Linked DNA regions of Homo sapiens: region 2 is linked to region 1. Evidence: promoter capture Hi-C in human tissues and cell types (Jung and others, 2019). All regions are on one chromosome and are shown on one strand. The core of a region is centred on a gene start or on the middle of the fragment in contact, and the rest is flanking DNA. Distances in the headings are between cores, read along the strand shown. Region 1 holds the start of RPL32 (ribosomal protein L32). Region 2 overlaps NUP210 (nucleoporin 210).

Region 1 (5,356 bases), core at 1,212-3,711:
ATTCCTGGCTCAAGCAATCCTCCTGCCCTTGCCTCCCAAGTAACTGGGACTGCAAAGTGAGTGCCACCAAATCCAGCTATTTTTTTTTTTTAATATATAAATGAGGTCTTGGTTTGTTTTCCAGGCTGCTCTTGAATGCCTGGCCTCAAGCAATCCTCCTGCCCTTGCCTCCCAAGTAACTGGGACTGCAAAGTGAGTGCCACCAAATCCAGCTATTTTTTTTTTAATATATAAATGAGGTCTTGGTTTGTTTTCCAGGCTGCTCTTGAATGCCTGGCCTCAAGCAATCCTCCTGCCTTGGCCTCCCAGAGTGCTGGGATTACAGGTGTGAGCCACCATATCCAGCCCAGCTCTAGACTTTTAGAGAAATTTTAATAGTATTTTACACCACAGTGATTCCTTTTTTTAAAAAAAATTTATGTCCCTAGCATGTACAGTAAACACTAAAGTGATTCCTAAAGAATTCTTCCCTTTTATCACTTCCAGTAGGCCTCTGTGAAACCAAATCTACCTCCGCTTACAAGAAAGATGCTGGGCTGGCCTTCTCTCAAAGTCTTTCCAAACTTTTCTTGGCATTGACTTAGACACCCTAGGAATCTAACTTGAGAAAATGTTTTCATTAAAAAAAATCTCAGGAAGTAAAACCTCCTGAATGATTACTGAGTTGACATAAATCTTATGTGTATATTCTTATCAGAAAAAAAGTATCTTCATTTTGTGGGACACCAATTCATGTATTATTATTATTTTGAGACAAAGTTTCGCTCTTGTTGCCCAGGCTGGAGTGCAATGGCGCGATCTCCACTTACTGCAACCTCCACCTCCTGAGTTCAAGTGATTCTCGTGCCTCAGCCTCCCTAGTAGCTGGAACTACAGGCATGTGCCACCACACCCAGCTAATTTTTTGTAACTTTAGTAGAGATGGGGTTTCACCATGTTGGCCAGGATGGACTCGAACTCCTGACCACAGGTGATCTGCCCACCTCAGCTTCCCAAAGTGCTGGGATTACAGGCATGAGCCACCGCGCCCAGTCGCTGGGTCTTACAGTAACTTTATGTTTAACATTTTGAGGAAATGCTATTCTTTTCCAAAGTGACTGCACCATTTCATATTTGCACTAGCACTGTACGGACATTCCCATTTCTCTGTCCTAGTGAGTGTGAAATGGTATCTCACTGCAGTTCCAGTTTGTATTTCCCTGATGGCTAATGATGTGGATCATTTCATGTGTTCATTGGCCACAGAGAAATGTCTATTTGGATTCTTTACCCATTTTTCAATTGGGTTATTTGTCTTTATAGGTTTGTTGTTGTTGAGACAGAGTCTTGCTCTGTCACTCAGGCTGGAGTGCAGTGGCATTATCACAGCTAACTGCAGTCTAGAACTGCTGGGCTCACGTGATCATCCCAGCTCAGCCTCTCGAGTAACTGGGACTACAGGCATGCGCCACCAGCCCCAGCTAATTATTTTATTTTTTGTAGAGACAGGGTCTTACTATGTTGCCTAGGCCGGTCTTGAACTCCTGGGCTCAAGCAAATCTCCCACCTCAGACTCCCAAAGTATTGGAATTATAGGTGTGAACCATAGTGCTCAGCCAATTTGCACAATAATCTTAAATACAAAAGCTAAGCAAAACAAATCAAGAGCATCTTTAAAAACTAGGCAGTCTGGGAGGCAGGGGCTGCCGTGAGCCGTGAGATGGCACCTTTGCATTCCAGCCTAGGTGACAGAGGGAGGCCCTGTCTAAAAAAAACCAAAAACCAAAAAACAAAACAAAACAAAAAACATCTAGGCAGTAGCTCGTGCCCGTAATCCCAGCTACTCAGGAGGCTGAGGCGAGAGAATCGTTTGAGCCCAGGAGTTCAAGACCAGCCTGGGCAACAGAGTGAGACCCCATTTCTAAAAAATGAACAAAGAAAAACTAGGCAGTTTCGCCCAGTGGTTAGAAGCGTGGAGTTTGGAGTCAAGTCTCCAAATTTCATCTTCCACATATGCAAAATGGAGACAATAATAGGGGTACGTTATAGAATTGTGGTAGGCATAGTGAACTCCATCGCATGTTAGCTGTTTTCGTTACTATTTACTGTCTAAATTCGGTGATGAAATTATTAGGAAGTCTCTGTCTTGTTCTCTTCTGACCACTAAGAGGCGCACTTCGGAGTAGAAGAAACGCGGGCGGAAATAGCCCAAAAGCGGATTGGCTTCGACTTCTGGCGGAAGTAAATTCCTCCCTCCACCAGGTCTTATTAGCTCAGAAAGAATTCCAAATTTCTACGTAGTCCCAAGGATAGGTAGAATACATTTCTCAGTCCTATTCCTAGTTATTATTGTCTATTAAAACATGTATACTCAGAATTTTTGCGGCATTATTTTTTGACGTGTCTTTATTTTATTTAAAAGAGCCGGAGCCGGAAGTGCTTGCCTTTTTCCCTGCTAGGACCCAGGGGTTACGACCCATCAGCCCTTGCGCGCCACCGTCCCTTCTCTCTTCCTCGGCGCTGCCTACGGAGGTGGCAGCCATCTCCTTCTCGGTAAGTGTTAATCCGTGGCAATCCGCATTCCTGCGGGATTCATCTGGCCCCGTCGCCCAGTGGTGCGGAGGCCTCCCCTTCAGCGCGGTAGTGTCTGTGGGTATTGTTATTGTCAGCTTACTGGAGCGTGTACAGGAACAGAACGAAGCCGCCGAGTTGATAGGGCTTTGCGTCCCAGAGCCTCCTGCCCTCCGCCTGTATTCAGAGCTGCGGGCTGCTTGTTTGTTCCTTGGCGGTGGAGGGTGCTAGTTGAGGCCAGACTTCGGGGTCTCCTGGGGGCCGTGGGACGACCAGGGGTGGCCCAGCTTGACAGCTTTCAGCTGGGATCTGTGGATCCCAGCGCTCACCAATGTCGGCCCACGTGTATTCGTTCATGCCATGGCCGGCTTCTTCCGCTGCAGTCTCTGGCCCGAGGGCTGCTGCTGCGGGACCGCCAAGGAAAGACGAGCTGTAGGTCGGCTGGTCCAGCTGCAGGCAGAAATTCTGGTAGTATCTCTGGGAATATGAAGATGCAACTGCCCCCACCTTGCCTTCGAGGATATCATGGGCCAGAAGGCAGAGTCGTTTTGAATACGTGGTTCATTGAGTACCCACTCTGGGCCAGTTGATGGCTGCGAAGAGAGCAGAAGGGGTGCTGCTGTAGGAAATCAATGGCTCGGAAGACCACACTGAGGAAGGTGTGAGTTGATACTGGAAGATCTCCAGGTTTGAGGCATCTTCAGAGGTATATGGTGGTTTTGTGTGTGTTGAGGGTGTGGTAGCGCAGCAGCTCCCTAGGGAATTAGAAGGTTTTATTGAACATTTACCCTGTGACAGGCACTGCAGGCATTCAGCGCGCAGTGTCATCTTCATTTTACAGGTGAGGAAAAGACTCAGGTTCAAGTAGATGGTCAAGGCCAGTACTACCGGAAGGACCATCTGGGGGTTCGGACACTGGTGGGGTGGGATTTGCTGCCCCTTGCAAATTGAGAGTGTCTTGGGGTCAGTTTTGATTTGCTCAGCTGTTGGCATTCTTTGGGCTCTGAGTGGGTGAGGTGACCCTTGACCTCCTGGGATCGCATCTGGAGAGTGCCTAGTATTCTGCCAGCTTCGGAAAGGGAGGGAAAGCAAGCCTGGCAGAGGCACCCATTCCATTCCCAGCTTGCTCCGTAGCTGGCGATTGGAAGACACTCTGCGACAGTGTTCAGTCCCTGGGCAGGAAAGCCTCCTTCCAGGATTCTTCCTCACCTGGGGCCGCTTCTTCCCCAAAAGGCATCATGGCCGCCCTCAGACCCCTTGTGAAGCCCAAGATCGTCAAAAAGAGAACCAAGAAGTTCATCCGGCACCAGTCAGACCGATATGTCAAAATTAAGGTATGTGGTCCTGGGATGGAAATGGGTGTGGGGTGAAGAAAAGAGTTTCCAACAGTTTCTGACATCACCTAGTCAGGATTATCTTTGACCGATGAACTGGCTTGTGGAAGAGCTTTCTGTAGAAATACAGGTCTCCCCCAGTGTGCCCTAGTGCTGGTACTTATGTCTCTTGATGTGTGAAGCGAAACTTTAATGAAAAGGGACATTTGGCCGTTTTGATGTGTTCAGAGGGCTTTGCATTTGTGTCCTGTATTTTGGGTTGCCTTGTGACAGCAGGATCCCTATTTTATAGACAAGAAAACTCAGGTGCTGAGAGCAGTGTCTGCAGCTGTGCTTGCCATCTCAGTATCTACACAGTCCCCTCGCATCCCATTGGTGCCTCCTCCATTGCTTGGGAGTGGCAATGGTGGGGGTGCCTTCATCCCTAGTGGCTAAAGCCACGAGCTCCTGGTTTTTCCCACCAAAAAAGTAAGGAAATAGTGAAGTCCTGTTACCAAAGGCAACTACTGTGTGGCATACTTCCTTTTCATTTGGTCCTTTTTTTCCCTCCCCAAAAGGAAGAGTTCGCACTCTGCACAGACGCTAACCCACCTGTGTATTATTTCCTTCAGCGTAACTGGCGGAAACCCAGAGGCATTGACAACAGGGTTCGTAGAAGATTCAAGGGCCAGATCTTGATGCCCAACATTGGTTATGGAAGCAACAAAAAAACAAAGCACATGCTGCCCAGTGGCTTCCGGAAGTTCCTGGTCCACAACGTCAAGGAGCTGGAAGTGCTGCTGATGTGCAACAAGTGAGTTGGGTCCCACCTCTAGTTTTCAGTGATCAGAAGTTTGCATCTGTGTGAGCACTTCTGGCAGGAACTCTACAAACTCTTGGGATGCATTTTGGCGGGGGGTGTTGTACATTCTCTGAGGGAATCAGAAGTTGTTCCTTGCAGGATTTTAGAGAATGCTTGTTGGGGAATTCAAGGTGTTTCCTTTGCTGAAGGAGGTGACTTGGTCTTCTAAGTGTAGAGACCCAAGACCAGGAAAAGACTGCTTTGTGAACACTGCAATAATAGCCACTTTCCACTACTACAATATCCTTTGGCTGTTGTTTCCAAAATGTTGCTTTCTTTATGAAGGTGTCAAGCAAAAGAGTTGAACTCTGAAATATTCGAAGAGATTTATTCTGAGCCAAATATGAGTTGACCATGGCCCGTGACACAGCCCTTGGGAGACCCTAAGAATATGTGTCCAAGGTGGGCGGGGAGCAGCTTGGTTTTACATATTTTAGGGAGACATGAGACATCAATCAAATACACATAAGGCATACATTGGTTTGGTCCAGAAAGGCGGCACTTCGAGGTTTTGGATAGATTTTCTGTTTCTCGTCGAGAATTGGTTATCACTAGAAAGGAATGTCTTGGCTACAGTAAGAGGTTGTGGAAACCAAGAGTGCCCTATTCAAGGAGGGAGTGCATTCAGATG
Region 2 (5,356 bases), core at 1,110-3,609, 490 kb before region 1:
GCTGTTGCCATGGGCTCGGGGAGCCACCAGGGCCTTGGAGCACTTGGGCGTCCCAGGATCAGATCTGAGCCGACCTCATGAGGCTGATCATTTGCCGGACTGAGCTCCTCACCAGGCCCCTGTGTGTGTCTATGTGGATCCTGCAAGAACATGGCCAGAGCCAGCCAGAGGAGCCTGGGAGGTGGAACGGGGGTTGTTCTGAGATGGTGGCAGTGAGGAGCAGGATGTCTCTGTGAGAGAAGGGAGCAGTTCGGTGGCACCTTGCCCAGGCTCAGTCCTGGCACAGTTATCCTGAGCAAACCCTGGTGCTGGAGTTGTGTGTGCTGCCCTCCGCGCTCACATCCTGGCAGGTAAAGTTCTTCCTCACTGGGCACGGAGGGAGAGGCCTGTGTTTCCAGGCTCCTTGAAGGAGCTCCCATTAGACTACACAAACATGAGCCTGCCTGTCTTTTCTCATCATATCTTTGGCCATGTGTGTGTGTGTGTGTGAGATAGGGTCTTGCTCTGTTGCTCAGACTGGAGTGCAAGCCTCAGCCTCCCAAGTAGCTGGGACTACAGTTGCACACTCCATGCCTGGCTAATTTTTAAAATTATTTTGTAGAGACTGAGGGTTTGCTGTGTTGCCTTGGCTGAGCTACTCTACCCGGCCACACCTTTGGCCTCTTAAAGGTCAGCCCTTCACATCATGTCATCAGTGACCTGACAGACGAGAAAGCCGCTTTTCTCCTCTCTGGCCCCTCCTCGGCTCTTGCTGCTAGGAGAGAAGCAGACATCTGGCCTGAATGTGACTCCAGTGCCCCATCGGAAGTGAAACTTGCCCTCTCTTGCAGGTGTTTGAGAAGCTGCAGCTGCTCAACCCTGAAATAGAAGCAGAACAAATATTAATGTCGCCCAACTCATATATAAAGCTGCAGACAAACAGGTACGTGACTCAGCTCTTGTTTCCAGCAAAGTTGTGCGGCTGTGCTTGCATCCGACACCTCATGTGTCAACACTGTCAGGAGCCATGGGTACTTTCAGGGAGGTTTTCTCCTGCTGTGCTTGGAATGGGTGAGGCCTCTGCCTGCTCCTTCTCTTCTCTGTGGTGCTCCTCTGCTTCTTGAAATCACTTCTCACTGTGGGTCTCTTTTTCCTCCTTGTAGCCTAGAAACATTTTTATGCGAGGTACTAAAATTCAGTCTTTAAAAGGGAAAAAAACACCAGCTTAGAAATGTTGTGTTTCAAGACTTGCCACTCAGAGTGTAGCCCATGAGCCAGAAGCATCAGCATCACCGGGAAGAGAAGATGCAGCTCTCAAGCCCCACCCCAGACCTGCCCAGGGAGAAGCTGCACCCTAGGGAGATCCCCAGGCGAGGGGGCCGCACAGTAACGCTTGGGAAAAGCTGTTTAAAGCTCTTCTGCAAACCTAATTCCTACCTTTGATTCCAAGGGGATGCCTTTCGTAACAGTGGCTTGCATTTGAATGGCAGTTGCCAAGCGGGAGACTCCACGGGCCACAGGACACTTACATGTTGCATGAAACACATACATGTTTTCATTCAGCCAAAAGTAACAAAGTGCCAGGCTCCATGCTGGGCTCCAGGAACACAGATATGGGTGACATAGGGTGCCCCGGAGGAGGGTAGCAGGAGAAGGCTATTAAAAAGCAAGGTGTAGTATTCAAACCAGAGCCCAAAGAAGGGTGCTGTCCATGGGGATTTAGGGGAGGCATGTCCCAGATGGAGATGCTCGGGCTGCAGTTCTTGAAGGATGAATAAGAGTTCCCCAGGTTAAGAGGAAGGGGTTGGTGGGGGAAGAATGTTTAGGCAGAGGCAATAACATTTGCTCCTAGTCATCTATAGGGCTGTGGAAGAGACAGAGATGATGGAAACTAGCCGTGGGAGCTGGAGGCCTTTGCTTCCTGGGTTTCTTTATTATATTAATAAATATGTAAAAGGGTAACAGATACGGCATAATTTGCTTCCTACCCAGTACATAGTATCAGTAGTTTGCTAACAGTTTTCTTAGCGGGTAGTCTGTTTTTATCCTGTTGACAGTCCTTAGAAATAGGACAAGACAGGATCATTACACACCTTTTACCAAGTAAGAAGTCAACGCCGAGAGAAGAGGGGACATAATGTGCACACAGCTGGTGGCAGGACATGTTGGGACCGGCTTTGGATTCTGTCGGACTCAAAGCCCCATCCTCCACTATGCCAGGATGCCTTGCTTCAGTAAATTGAGAACAATTTGCTGCAGAAATGATATTTTACAGTAGATGTCCCATGGAGCTGATGAAAGAAACTGCCCTCATAGTCTCTCCCTCCCTGCTGGCTGACCCACGGCAGGCACTGCTCTGGGAAGAGTGAGACGCCACACTTTGCTCGGAACCATTGGATTTCTGAATTACTTTTCCGTGGGTGACTGATGAAGCCTCAGACAACTGACGGCACGTGGTCCTGAGGTCCGTGGGGCCAAGATTGGGCCTTTTTTCCTCCCAGGAGCATGAGGAGCCACAGACTCTTAGATCTCCTGGCATTGTATCCAGGCCCACTCCCACTGCTGCCATCTACAAAAACAGCTCTGTTTTGTTTTCCAAAGGGATGGTGCAGCCTCTCTGAGCTACCGCGTCCTGGATGGACCCGAAAAGGTTCCAGTTGTGCATGTTGATGAGAAAGGCTTTCTAGCATCAGGGTCTATGATCGGGACATCCACCATCGAAGTGATTGCACAAGAGCCCTTTGGGGCCAACCAAACCATCATTGTTGCTGTAAAGGTAGGGTTGCATTCTCCTCCTTTTTGGAGTAATGAAAGCAATAGCACTGAGGTAATATGCCTCTCAGGTGTAAAAGTGAATACGTTCACCTTCCAGCTAAGAAACTGTAGACAGGCATTTAGAGTAACTCAGGGGCAAAGGTCCTAGGTAGATAAAAAGCTACAGCATCTTCTGGTCATCAGAGCCGAAGATCCTTGGGAAATCATTGATTCCAAGAACTTCATTTCATAGATGAGGCCCAGCAAGGTCCATGATTGGCGTAAGGTTACAGAGCTGGGACTGGCACCACAGCTTCCTGACTGGAGTGCGGGTGCTCCACCCACTGTGCCTGGCCACTGATGTTATCACCACCCATGGTGGAGCTCCTGTTCTGGGCCAGCCCAGTGTCTGGAACATGGTCTGTTCTTAAGAGCATTGAATGTTGTGCTCAGTACCTGCCATACAAGTCGTGACATCCAGTACGTGACATCCACTGTGGTTTTGAGAATGAGGTGGCCCATTTTCCAGACAAGGAGACTGAGGCTCAGAGTGAGAGTGACTTGCTTAAGCTTGCATGGGGGTTGAGTGATGGGGTCTGTCTGGTTTGGGCCGTGTCCTTCTGCCATATCATGGCACTGCCCTCTGCCGTTCTGTGTTCCTTACGGATGGGACCTTCTCCATCAGCATCCCTGGGTCAGGTCCTGGGGTTTTGCTGAATGGAATTTTCTTTCCATGTCTCATCATCACCACTTGCTGAACCCTGGATGACAGAAGACACACACTCACTTAAATCTTTAGACTCTGCCTGGGTCACAGACCTCTTTCATTAATTCACATCATTTTGTTTCAAAATGGGTGCCTGGCAGCAAATCCCCCGCTCTAGTTTTTGGTGAGTGAAAGTGACTGACTGCTCATCCTATTTCAACAAATATGTACTGAGCACTAGCTGTATACCAGACACTGCACCACTGAACTTTGTTAAAGAAATTCAGACCTTTGGAGCACTAGCTTTTGAGCGAGGATAGATTTTCACCTGGACTCAGAGAAACAAGGGCTGCTGTTTATGGAGCTCGGGTTCTTGGGCTCCAGAAATCCCCATTTCCCTCCTTCCCCTGGTGGCCTGCAGGGCATGCTGTGGCCTGCTTAGCGCTGCCCCTGCGATCGAGGAGGATTTCGTTTCTTTAAATGCCCCAAGAGCCAGGTTCTCTGAAGAAACTGGACATTTGCAGCCCAGGGGGCCCTCTTGCAATGTAAATAGTGATCTCATTTATTCAAGTCATGGATTGGGACACTCCTGGGTGGGTTTTCTCATAGAGAGGCCAGTCTGCTGTGTTGGGAAGTAAGAACCTTGTCACTAGGTTGGGACACTCTGGGGAGTGTGGCCTTTACTCCTCTCAGGACCCCTAAGTCCAGCCCTGCATTGTTCCTGAGGTGGATCCTGCTGGGGGCAGGTGTCCCCTCCTTGGGAGGTGGGTTTTCCTGGAGGCCAGTCCCTGGCACTGAATCCTCATCATACCTGTATGTTGTCCCTTAGGTATCCCCTGTTTCCTACCTGAGGGTTTCCATGAGCCCTGTCCTGCACACCCAGAACAAGGAGGCCCTGGTGGCCGTGCCTTTGGGAATGACCGTGACCTTCACTGTCCACTTCCACGACAACTCTGGAGATGTCTTCCATGCTCACAGTTCGGTCCTCAACTTTGCCACTAACAGGTAGGATGTGGGCAAGGGTCATTTCTCCTATGAAGTCCTGTCTGGTACCTGGTAGAGACAACTGGGGATAACACAGAAAGTCTGCTGCTGTTGAAGGAAGATGTGTATTACTTCAGTTTCCAAGAGATGTGGGCATGCTGCACCATGCAGGGCCACGAGGAAACACCACTGCCCTTGGGGGATGTAGACCAGCTCAGAGGAAGACAGACAGGCATCAGCCCCCAAAGGAGGAAACAGGGCATGGGGCAGCTCCAGGGAGTGCTCCCCGAGGCACAGGAAATTGGCCCTTCAGCTTCGGCTGCCCACAGGTCCTGCCACAGTTGTGTTTCCCTGTTGCTGAATGCATTCAAAGACAGGTGTCAGGGGTGTTGCCTTATGGAAAGAACTGGGGTTTAGAGTCAGGCCTGGTTCTAGCCCCAGCTCTGCCCTTCGTGGGCCCTGTGAGTAGGTCACCATCCAAAAATCTGTTTCCACACCTCTCACGTTGGGCAATATGGCCTAGGTTCCAGGGCTTTCCTTCAGCTGAGGGAGTGGTCATGAGGACCGCTGGCAAACCATGGCACTCCGTGTGTGCGCACATAATTGCCATCCATCAGTTTAGGGCATGTCCTGGAGGAAATGGAGCCCAGTTCTCCCAGCCCTTTGGCTGCACTGCAGGTCATTCTGGCCTTCTTGTAGCAGGAGCACCTGATAGAGACCTAGTCAGCACTCAGGGTCAGAAGGTGTGGTGGAGGCAAGGATGCAGCCATGATCCCTAACCCAAACTGTCACCCCACGCAGTCCACACTTCTGCACCAAAGCTGCCATTGCCAACATTGACTGAGCACCTGCCCTGTGGCAGGTGCCTCCCCACTGCTGACCTCATGTAATGCTTATGCCAGGCCTGCGTCACGGTCACGTGATGATCCCCAT

What was found. Contacts are between HindIII fragments. The study calls those that stand out against the background at their distance.
Region 2: a contact is called between a fragment that was not itself captured here and the fragment with the promoter of RPL32 in region 1, in 1 of the 25 tissues and cell types used here (spleen).

The regions. Positions count from the first base shown.
Region 1 is chr3:12,838,670-12,844,025 of GRCh38, reverse strand. RPL32 (ribosomal protein L32) reads left to right here and starts at 2,461. Exons shown (of 4, transcript NM_000994.4): 1 at 2,461-2,532; 2 at 3,784-3,884; 3 at 4,496-4,677. The coding sequence starts at 3,789. It overlaps SNORA7A (small nucleolar RNA, H/ACA box 7A), which reads left to right and starts at 3,576; the gene lies at 3,576-3,714. RefSeq lists enhancers at 1,883-2,132, 2,226-3,162, 3,163-4,101. The HindIII fragment of the contact is 28,801 bases long and covers 1-5,356 here.
Region 2 is chr3:13,327,859-13,333,214 of GRCh38, reverse strand. It overlaps NUP210 (nucleoporin 210), which reads left to right. Exons shown (of 40, transcript NM_024923.4): 29 at 831-922; 30 at 2,581-2,755; 31 at 4,269-4,444. Among named protein-coding and RNA genes, the nearest start is that of NUP210, 90 kb to the left of the region's middle. RefSeq lists enhancers at 392-441, 762-1,121, 5,349-5,356 and a silencer at 2,289-2,456. The HindIII fragment of the contact is 4,318 bases long and covers 201-4,518 here.